Regions from separate parts of the Homo sapiens genome. Here all the other regions are linked to region 2. The links are contacts of gene promoters, found by promoter capture Hi-C in blood cells and fetal thymus (Javierre and others, 2016). All regions are on one chromosome and are shown on one strand. The core of a region is centred on a gene start or on the middle of the fragment in contact, and the rest is flanking DNA. Distances in the headings are between cores, read along the strand shown. Region 1 holds the start of ZNF382 (zinc finger protein 382). Region 2 holds the start of ZNF607 (zinc finger protein 607). Region 3 holds the start of ZFP82 (ZFP82 zinc finger protein).

Region 1 (3,447 bases), core at 560-3,059, 1.1 Mb before region 2:
AAGAAAAAAATCAAAATGACCTCCAGCTTTGCTTTAAAATGTGCAACTACAATGCTTTTCTTCTCTCAGAGCTCTTCTCTTGGAATACAGCAAAATGTGGAAAGAAAGGGAATCACAATATACTCAGCCTTTCTTGGAGCCCAGACAGGCTAAATAAGAACACATTCTTCACCACCGGCAAGCTTCCATAACCCATGCTGAATATGACCAGATGGAAGTATGAGAAAGACTGGAATATTGTTGACTCTTCCCTTCATAAAGAAAAGTCAGGTTCACCAAAGCCTGGGACTGAAATGTTTCTGTATTCACAATAATTTCCTTTAGACAGCTATGAAAATGCTGTGGATCTGCAATATTCAACTTGCCCCCACAGAGCTTCCAAAAGGGATCTTTTGGCTAGGCACGGTGGCTCACGCCTGTAATCCCAGCACTTTGGGAAGCCGAGGCGGGTGGATCACCTGAGGTCAGGAGTTCGAGACCAGTCTGACCAACATGGTGAAACCCCGTCTCTACTAAAAATACAAAAATGAGCCGGGCATGGTGGTGCATGCCTGTAATCCCAGCTACTCGGGAGGCTGAGGCAGGAGAATTGCTTGAACCCGGAAGGCGGAGGTTGCAATGAGCCGAGATTGCGCCACTGCACTCCAGCCTGGGCAACAAGAGCAAAACTCCATCTCACACACACACACAAAATCTTTGGAGAAACGAATCCTACTCCTGGGGCCTCAATATCATATCTTCCCAGAACCTTGCCTTGGGAGCAATTCCAGCTCTAACATCTCCATATCAAACACGAGGCTGTGCATATCAGAACACAGCCTTGTCCATGTGAAACACAAGGCTGTGCTTTTTCAGTTGGAAACTTCATTCTGGATCTCAAATATCCAACTTTCTTTTCGATAGCCATTTGACTGCACACTGTGCAACGTGGTTATAAGGTGAAATGACTGAGGCAGTGAAAGAAATCCCAGTATAACAAACTCCAAGAAACCACGTAACTTAAAATTGGCCCCAGAGGTTGGCGAGGCTGCATGCCACTGTGTATTATGCATTATGAAAGCGACAGGGGCCATGCTTTAGAACAGAAGGTCTCAGAGTCTTCACAGACACAGATCGAGCCATACGGGGACCTTGTCCACGTATTCCTGAGCCCCAGAACTGCAGAAATCAAACTCTACAAAAGCTGCACCAGGCCAGTTTTGATCACAGTCTCCAGTGGGTCACAACAGCGCTGTCACAGGATCACTGATAACAGCATGACACATTCATAGTCACCGCTCAGCGCCGTCACACAAACGGCCCCGCCCCCACTCAGTCCCGCGGGCCCAATCGGGGACAGTCAGGGCTGTCCCGGGCTGTGCACCTGCTGTGCACACACACCCCCTGCTGTGCACACCCCCCGCCCCCCCGGGACCATCACAGGCGCGCCCACTCACACCACCACACACGGACGCAGCCACAGAACGGCACACACAAACACAATCACACAGTCTCCCTCCCCAGCAGGTGACTTGCACACAGGCCTGGGGCTTCTGCCTCCACAAACCCTCTCCGCGTCCCATGAACCCAGGTCCCCTGCCGTGAGCTCTTCTCGCATCCAGACCCGGGTCACCTCAACTCACCACATGGAAAACGAACACCAGGTCAACGGAAAAGGGAGCCGGGGTCCTGGCAGAAGCGTAGTGCCAGCCGCAATAGGGCGGCCGTGGGTGCAAACGGAGGGGAGCGCCGGCAGCTAGCACCGCGCGGCGACTAACGGGCCGCCCCGGAGACTCCTGGGAGCTCAGGCCCACGCGCGAGTGCGCAGGCGCAGACGACTCACCCTGGGCCGGGGGTGAGGCTTGGTGGGTGCCAGGGGTGCTGAGGAGGCCAAGGAGGGCACTGGGAGCTCCGTTCCGGGAGAGCTGTCTAAGGACGCGGAACCGGGTGGGGAGGCCAGGGAGGTAACCAAGAGTCCGAGCCGGGCCTGGAAATTCTGAGGAGGAAACCGGGACCGCGGTATCCAGACGCTCCGATCTGTACGAGCCGGGCCTCGGGCGTGGTCCATGGGCGTGACCTTGAGGGTGACCCGGAGCGAGCTCCGCGAAGGGGGATTTTGCCCGTTCTGATCCCGCGGAAGCGCCATCGCTGGCGGCGGGTCCCCGCGCGGAGCGGGCGCTGTGTGTTCGCGCGCGCGGGCGCGCGCTGAATAGGGGTGGCCTCCTGCGCCCAACCTGCTGCATTTTAGGTGCTTGCCTCTCTTTGGGATGTTGTGGCCGATTGTGTGTGAAAAGTGAACGGAGTAGTGTTGCTGCGCGAGGTTTCCTCTGCGTGTGTCTATTTTTAGATTAGGTGTGAGTCGCATTTGAGACTGCCTTTGAGTGTGGAGAATTGCAAGTGATTTGTAGGTGTGGTTGTGACTGCCTGGAGTCGTGTTAGCTGCTGTCTGAGGTTGTGAATGACAAGTGGGGCCTGTAGGTTGGTGGTTCTCTGAAGGATGTTTGATTGACTGTGACTCTGCATGTGTTTGTAACCTACTGTTACTTCTGGTGGTTTTGTGGCCTTAGTGACCTAAATATTTGAATGATTGAGGAACTCTGTTATGACCATGGCTAGTTGGTTATGTAAGACTTGATTATCTGAATAGTAGCCATTAAGCCTGCCTCCAAAACTGTAACTAAGTAGCAATTTAGCAAATAAAATAGAGATAACAGTATCAGAGGGGAAGAGATGATTTTCATAATTCCCAGATTCATTTCCTGGAAACACCATATTAACTAAAACCAGTATGTTGAAATGAATAGCATTCCATTGGGGACATGCAGGAAATTTTTTTTTTTTTTTTTTTTTTACCATAACTACCACTTTTGTTGTTGTTTTTTGTTTGTTTTAAGACAAGGTCTTGCTCTTTTGCCCAGGCTGGAGTGTAGTGGCATGATCTCTGCTCACTGCCACCTCTACCTCTGAAGTTCAAGTGATTCTCCTGCCCCAGCTTCCTGAGTAGCTGGGACTACAGGCTTGTGCCACCACGCTCGGCTAGTTTTTGTATTTTTAGTAGAGATGGGGTTTCACCATGTTGCCCAGGCTGGTCTTGAACTCCTGACCTCAAGTGATCCCCTCCCCCCGCCCCCTCGGCCTGCCAAAGTACTGGGATTACAGGTGTGAGCCACTGTGCCTGGCATAACTACCACTTTCAACACTTGTATATGAGTGAGGTTTCCTACTCCCTTAGGCTTGCTAAGATAATAAAAAGTATTTGATAGATTTTTAATAAGTCCAGTCTCACTGTAGTAATTAAAATAGTTATTTTGCGGGCCTGGTGCAGTGACTGATGCCTGTAATCCCAGCATTTTGGGAGGCCAAGGTGGGCAGATCACCTGAGATCGAGAATTCGAGACCAGCCTGACCAACATGGAGAAACCCCATCTCTACTAAAAATACAAAATTAGCCGGGCATGGTGGTGCATG
Region 2 (3,338 bases), core at 396-2,895:
AAATGCAAATTAACAAACATGTACAGGAATTCTTTATAGAATTTCAGGGGGTTTGTGATGTCCCTTATGCCCATAAGGGCATTGGTCTACAGACAGTACACCAATGACCGAGAATTCCTATTTTGGAAAACTTAAATTCTGGCTCACTTCCTTCACATCACGGCTAAGTTCATATTCTTGTTGCTTTTGATCTACAGAAATCCAAAACGGAATATCCAAAATTGCCTCATAATACTTAGCGCTTATGTTTCCCCCCTCCAAGGCTGCAGGCGCGTAATTTCATACACACGACCAGAAGGAAGTATGTTGGATGGAACCTGCAATCATCCTTCACTGCAGGTTCTTGGGGTCAGAATTCAAGGCCGTGTTTGTTAAACATGTAAATGAAACTCCAAGAACCGGGAGGTGGGGGCGGAGTAACAACCCTTTTCAGGAGGGAATCCTACACTCGAAACTGACAAACCCTGCCAGACCAAATTTTAGTCAGGCTACTACACCTTCAGCTAGGCCCATCTGTACACTTCACTGTAAAATCTGGCTATAGCAAAGAACTATTCTAAGTCAGTTTAGCAAGACCCTTTCGCCTCCGTATCTTCATCCTCCACCGTCCCCCAGGTCTCTCTCTCCAGAAATAATCCTGTTAGGTGCGTTTAGTCAGAATCTTCCTTAACCCAGACATTTCCTCTTAGTAATTTCTCATCCAGTGATCCCTAACCTTCTTGGCTATAAATTCCCACTTGTTCATGCTGAATTCGGAGTTGAGCCCAATGTCTGTTACCCACTGCAAAATCTCACAGCCGGGATCCCAATACCTACCACCATGGTCCTGAATAAAGGGTTCTTTGCATGCTTTAACAAGTGTCACTGAATACTTTTTTATTTAACAGAATCTATCATACCTTTCTTAAGGGCAATTACTCTTCTAAGCTTCTCATCCTATCTGTTTCTTCTCACTGGAAATCTTCATCTAAGACTCAGTATCTGATTTCCCATTGGGACCATTTCTCTGTTGTAGTCGTACTAGGCTGAGGAAGGCACAGGAAGCAGCAGGGAACCTGGAGCCAAGGGTCAATAGACCCCACAGAGCCCAGCGAAGCACGCTTTACAAAGGACACACACGGCATGTACAGGTCACACAAGGTCGACTACGCACCCCTCACAGTCCCGCAACTGCACCCACGTCACACAGGCAAGCCGGTCCTGTCGCCGCTGCGCGGTCTCTCACGCTCCCCGCCTGTCTCCTAGAGACGGGCCCCTCCTCCGCAGCTCCAGCACCCTAGGGCCTGAGGAGGCGGGAGACTCGCCCGGCCCGCCTGGGGGCCTCCGCGCTCTGAGCGCCTCCTGCAGCCCCACTCTCACCGCCACGCAGGGTACCACGCGGGCGGCGGGCTGGGGCTGCAGAGGCTCCCGCAGTGACCTGCGCCGCCTTCTTCAGGTGGAACCAAAAGGTCCCGGAACCGGAGCCAGGGGTCCAAGTTTTCTCCGTTGCCTTTGTAATATGTAGTCCAAGCCAGAACAGTCAGGACCGCAGGTACCGGTGAGAAATGGAGTCCAGAATCCTAAAAACCTACGAGAAATACGGCAGCGACCACTTGGACCGCGCCTCCCACCCACCGCTCGAGCCCCGGAGACTTCTGGGAGTGGCCGCCTTGCCTCGAGTGCGCATGCGCAGATCGGCCACTACTGGGCCCCTGGCCTGAGGCTTAGGGTGGAGTTAGTGCGTTCTTAGGGCCAGTAGGAGGCGAGTCTGAGTAGAAACTGATCCAGGTAGCCTCGGAAGGGATCACCTGCTGGATGGGTGTGAGCTCCTCAGGGTGGGGCGCCGAAACCCTCATGGCTCCTGAGGTAGAGCCGGCCTCCTTGGTAACACATGGGACTGGGACTTTTAATACCACCCGACAGGCCCAGCTTGTCTCGTCAAGCGCTAAGTAAATGGACTCACGTCCTATATGAGGGTTTGAAGTTCCATCACATTCTTCAATACATGACATTATGTTCTTCATCTTTGGACACGAATATATTTGACTAAAAATTTGACTAAAAAATCATCTGAAGAAATAACTGCTAAATAGTTTTATTATTTTTGTTCTGGAATAGGCTTCTTGAAGATAAAATAAGAAATTTAAAAAATTTTTTTGATCCTTCATGTAATACTTTGTAAATCTTCATAGTTATTTAGAAGCATCCAAAATTTCCAAATGGTAAAAAACGAATAAGAAAAATTTTTAGGTAAGTAAATTTGGGGGAAATATTTACAACAGCTAAAACGGACAAATATTTAATAGTCCGAATTTCCTGTTTCTTTGGCTTAATAAAATATTGATGAATACAGGCTGGGCACGGTGGCTCACGCCTTTAATCCCAGCATTTTCGGAGGCCAAGGCAGGAGGATCAGTTGAGGCCAGAAGTTCAAAACCAGCCTAAGAAACATAGTGAGACACCCCTCTCCTCCTCCCAAACTCTACCAAAAATGAAAGTTAGCCTGGTGTGGTGGCACACGCCTGTGGGCCCAGCTATTCCAAAGACAAAGGTAGGAGGATCAGTTGAGCCCGGAAGTTCAGGCTTCAGTGAGGTATGATGGTGTCACCGCACTCTGGCCTGAGCAACAGAGCAAGACCTTGTCTCAAAAAATAAATAAGTAAAATTAATTTAAAAATAAAAAATATTTGTCTATACCCTAAGAGGAAAAGGAACAAAACTAAAAAATCACCATTCAAAAATACAAATAGTCAAGGAAAAAAAACTATTAAAGTTACAATTTAAGAACTTATTGATCACTTTTTCTTCTCTTAATTAGTTCTTGGATTTGTTGCTCCTGAATCTCCTGAATAATCTCTCAGAAATACCACACATAGATCAATGGATTAAATTGACTCCACATATTATTTTCTTTTTCTTTTTTCTCTTTTTGAGACGGAGTTTTGCTCTAGTTGCCCAGGCTGGAGTGCAATGGCACGATCTTGGCTCACTGCAACCTCCACCTCCCAGGTTCAAGCGATTTTCCTGCCTCAGCCTCCTGAGTAGCTGGAATTACAGGCATGCATCACCATGCCCAGCTAATTTTGTATTTTTAGTAGAGACAGGGTTTTACCATGTTGGTCAGGCTGGTCTCGAACTCCCAACCTCAGATGATCTGCCCGCCTTGGCCTCCCAAAGTGCTGGGATTATAGGCATGAGCTACTGCGCCCGGCTCCACATACTATTTTCAACAAGGATACCAAGGCATTTTAAGGAAGGGAAGAGTAGTCTTTGTTGAAAAGACTGGAATTAGAGATGCACATAGAAAGGAATGAATTGAGTTCCCTGCCTCTCACCATATACAAAATCAACTCAAAATG
Region 3 (3,345 bases), core at 637-3,136, 1.3 Mb before region 2:
AAAAAAAAAAAAAAAAAAAGAATTCCTGTTCTAGGCTGGGGGCGGTGGCTCATGCCTGTCATTCCAGCACTTTGGGAGGCCGAGGCAGGCAGATCACTTGAGGCCAGGAGTTTGAGACCAGCCTGGCCAACATGGTAAAACCCGGTCTGTACTAAAAATACAAAAATTAGCTGGGTGTGGTGGTGCAGGCCTGTAATCCCAGCTACTTGGGAGGCTGAGGTATAAGAATCGCTTGAACCACGGAAAGGGAGGTTGCAGTGAGCTGAGATTGTGCCACTGCACTCCAACCTGGGTGACAGAGCAAGACCCTGTCTCAAAAAAAAAAAAAAAAAAAAAAAAAAAGAATTCCTGTTTTAGACTATTTAAGCATCTGATCTGGCTCATTTATTTTTTACTAGGAAATACTCACCACAATTGGCTTAGTATTTTCATTTTCCCCCCATCTATAGAAGGCTGATGTAGAATTGCTCCAAATCACTACTTAAGAATACATAACTAAGGTTTATTAAGTACTAACGAGGTCTCAGGAACTGTTCTAAGAACTTTACACATAGTAATTAAAAGAAGGCCCACAGAAGTAATGAAAAACATCTACCAAATGGGTATGTGCATACAGGCTCTCGGGAGGGGACCTAGGTATCAGCTCAATGGACAGGACATTTATGGAGAATGAAACAAATATTCTCATGTCCTAAGAAATAAGAATGCATTTCACAGAAGAAAGCAGAAACACCCACTCGCCTCGACCTTGACTTAAACAGGCAACAGCAATTCATTCCTCCTCCCGCTCGGACCCCTTTTCTTAAAGAATTGGGCAGGACTGGCTAATAAGGGAACCAGGCTTTTCTTGCAGCCCAGCCTCGCATAGGGCACAATGCCCCCACCGCCCACCCACACATAACCAGAGTAACATAAGAGAGATGGTGTTGTTAACTCTTCCCAGTATCAAAGAAAGGCCAGGGTCATGGATGCCCGGGGCTAGAACTGGAGTTCACAATAGCTTCCTGGAAGCAATGCTGTGGTTCTGAAACCTGCAGCTGGACTCTTCAGAGTTGTGAGTGCACGTGCGTGGGTCCGGGTCCGCGAGGAGGTGGTGTGGGAGTCCCTTCCAGGAGCAAGCCTGGGCGGGAGCGGGGGCTCGTTCAGTTCTAATATTCCTATCCCAAGGTCGGGTCTGAGCCTTGTTTCGCTGTTGCCCAGGCTGGAGAGTAGTGGTGCTATCATAGCTCGCTGCAGCCTCAATCTCCTCCTAGGCTCAAGCCATCCTCCCGCCTCAGCCTCTCGAGTGGCTGGGACCACAGGAGCACGCCATCACACCCGGCTCATTTTTTAAATTTCTGGTACAGATGGGAGTTTCGCTTTGCTGCCCAGGCTGGTCTCGAACTCCTGGCTTCCAGCGATCCTCCCGCCTCGCTCTCCCAGAGCTCTGGGATTACAGATGTGAGCCACCTGGTCCGGCCTAGTCTGCGCGTTTCTGCTGGGAGTCTTTGGCGTGCAGAAACTGACCGAGGGCCATTTCTCTGCAGCTGGGCCCGGTGTGGGCAGAGGATGCTGGGGTCAGTCACGCACTCCACGGCCACAACAACCTTCGCTCATACAATAGTCTCTGCACCCAAGTCAGCCGCACAGACTCCGTCACGTCCCAGCCCCGGCCCCGTCACGCCCACGACACACACACCCGGGCCTGAGGCGCGGGCTCCCGCCCCTCTGCGATACTGCAGTGGCCCCGCTTACCTCTCTTTACCCCCTGGGCCGCAGCGCTTTTCCTACAGATTACCAGGACCGACGCTCCGGGCCAGGACTGCTCACTCGGGGCGCGAACCCGAGGCACAGCGATGCCCGAACGGAGGAAGCCGCTGCCGGGTCACGCCACAATCCCCGGGGCCTAACGGGCTGCGCGCGGAGGCTGCTGGGAGGGCCGGGCGCGCTCACGGAGTGCGCAGGCGCGGCCAGTCTCAAGGGTCCGCTCGCTGGTGCAGCCCCTGCTCTGCGTGAACCCGGAGCCGGAGCTAGGTCCGTCCCAGCGAGGCTGCGCTTCGAGTCCCTTAGCGCCTGGGGACGGCGCGGCAGGGCCTGGAGGGGAGCGGGGACAGATGGCTGGCGCGTTAAAGAGGGGCGCCCGCGACCGCCTCTCTATAGTGCCAACTAGGGAGCCCTGTGAGCGAGGACGGCGCTGCGAGTCTGTCCCTGGCGCGCTCCTGGGTGGGATTCTTTCACTGGGTGTGGCTGTTGGGATTTGAGACCGTGTGACTCCGGAGATTCGGGGAAGCCAGTTCCTATATTTTCCATTTCTGTATTTTTAAATGGTAAAAACAATGAAAAGGAGAACAATATTTTGTGAAATATGAAAATCATACATGTCAAATTTCAGTGTCCATAAATAAAAGTTTTATTGGAACATAGCCGTGTTTGATTGTGTACTGTCTATTGCTATATTTGAGCTACAAGGACAGACTCGAGTAGTTACACAGACCAGATGGCCCACGCAGCCTAAAATACAGTCAGTTCTCACTATTCACAGTAGTTATGGTCTATAAACTTGCTACAAACACGGAATTAGTGAATACCATTCCACTGCTTCTAGGGGAAATACAGGGTTAGTTTCCTGTAAGCATCTGGTCACATTTTAGTCAACCGATGAATGCATAAGCTTATTTTATTGTGTTTATTTTCTTTTTTTCTTTTTTTTTTTTTTTTTTGAGATAGGGTCTTGCTCTGTCACCCAGGCTGGAGTGCAGTGGTGGGATCTTGGCTCACTGCAACCTCCTCCGCCTCCCGGGTTCCAGCAATTCTCCTGCCTCAGCCCCCAGAGTAGCTGGGAATACAGATGCATGTCACCATGCCCAGCTGATTTTTGTATTTTGTAGAAACGGAGTTTCACCATGTTGACCAGGCTGGTCTCAAACTCCTGACCTCAGGTGATCCACCCGCCTTGGCCTCCCAAAAGTGCTGGGATTATAGGCATGAGCCACCGCGCCTGGCCTTATTGTGTTTCTATTTAAACACTTTAATATATATTATTGATTCATTAACATTGAACTCATGGCCAACAGCTCCATAACTCATGCCTGAATGAAGCTTATCTAACACATGTATTTTTTCTGTAAGACACATGACCGCTTTCTCATTCATAGGAACATCAACAGCACTTTAGTACTACTACATTTGGGGTCCCTTTGAAACAGCAAAATCACCAGCAAAAAACAAAAATATGAGAAGCCAAGGTACTAAATGGACTGCAAAAAGGGTACCTGTTTACAGTATGAGAGCTGAAATAAGAAGATAGAGGGTCACTTTGTTTGACTTTGGCTGAGAACATGCCTGTTAAGGGACTCAAAAAGGTTC

Evidence for each region. Contacts are between HindIII fragments. The CHiCAGO score rates a contact against its expected background, and 5 or more counts as called.
Region 1: a contact is called between the fragment with the promoter of ZNF382 here and the fragment with the promoter of ZNF607 in region 2, in 4 of 17 cell types (naive B cells, non-activated CD4 T cells, activated CD4 T cells and 1 more). The highest score is 5.8, in naive B cells.
Region 3: a contact is called between the fragment with the promoter of ZFP82 here and the fragment with the promoter of ZNF607 in region 2, in 1 of 17 cell types (M1 macrophages). The highest score is 5.2, in M1 macrophages.

What each region holds. Positions count from the first base shown.
Region 1 is chr19:36,603,504-36,606,950 of GRCh38, forward strand. It overlaps ZNF382 (zinc finger protein 382), which reads left to right and starts at 1,810. Exons shown (of 5, transcript NM_032825.5): 1 at 1,810-1,844. It also overlaps a transcript of ZNF529 not described here. RefSeq lists enhancers at 1,082-1,221, 2,202-2,261 and a silencer at 1,782-1,841. The HindIII fragment of the contact is 5,073 bases long and covers 181-3,447 here.
Region 2 is chr19:37,718,116-37,721,453 of GRCh38, forward strand. It overlaps ZNF607 (zinc finger protein 607), which reads right to left and starts at 1,646. Exons shown (of 5, transcript NM_032689.5): 1 at 1,154-1,646. RefSeq lists silencers at 1,148-1,237, 1,298-1,407. The HindIII fragment of the contact is 3,190 bases long and covers 926-3,338 here.
Region 3 is chr19:36,416,758-36,420,102 of GRCh38, forward strand. ZFP82 (ZFP82 zinc finger protein) reads right to left here and starts at 1,887. Exons shown (of 5, transcript NM_133466.4): 1 at 1,735-1,887. RefSeq lists an enhancer at 1,256-1,415. The HindIII fragment of the contact is 3,270 bases long and covers 1-2,648 here.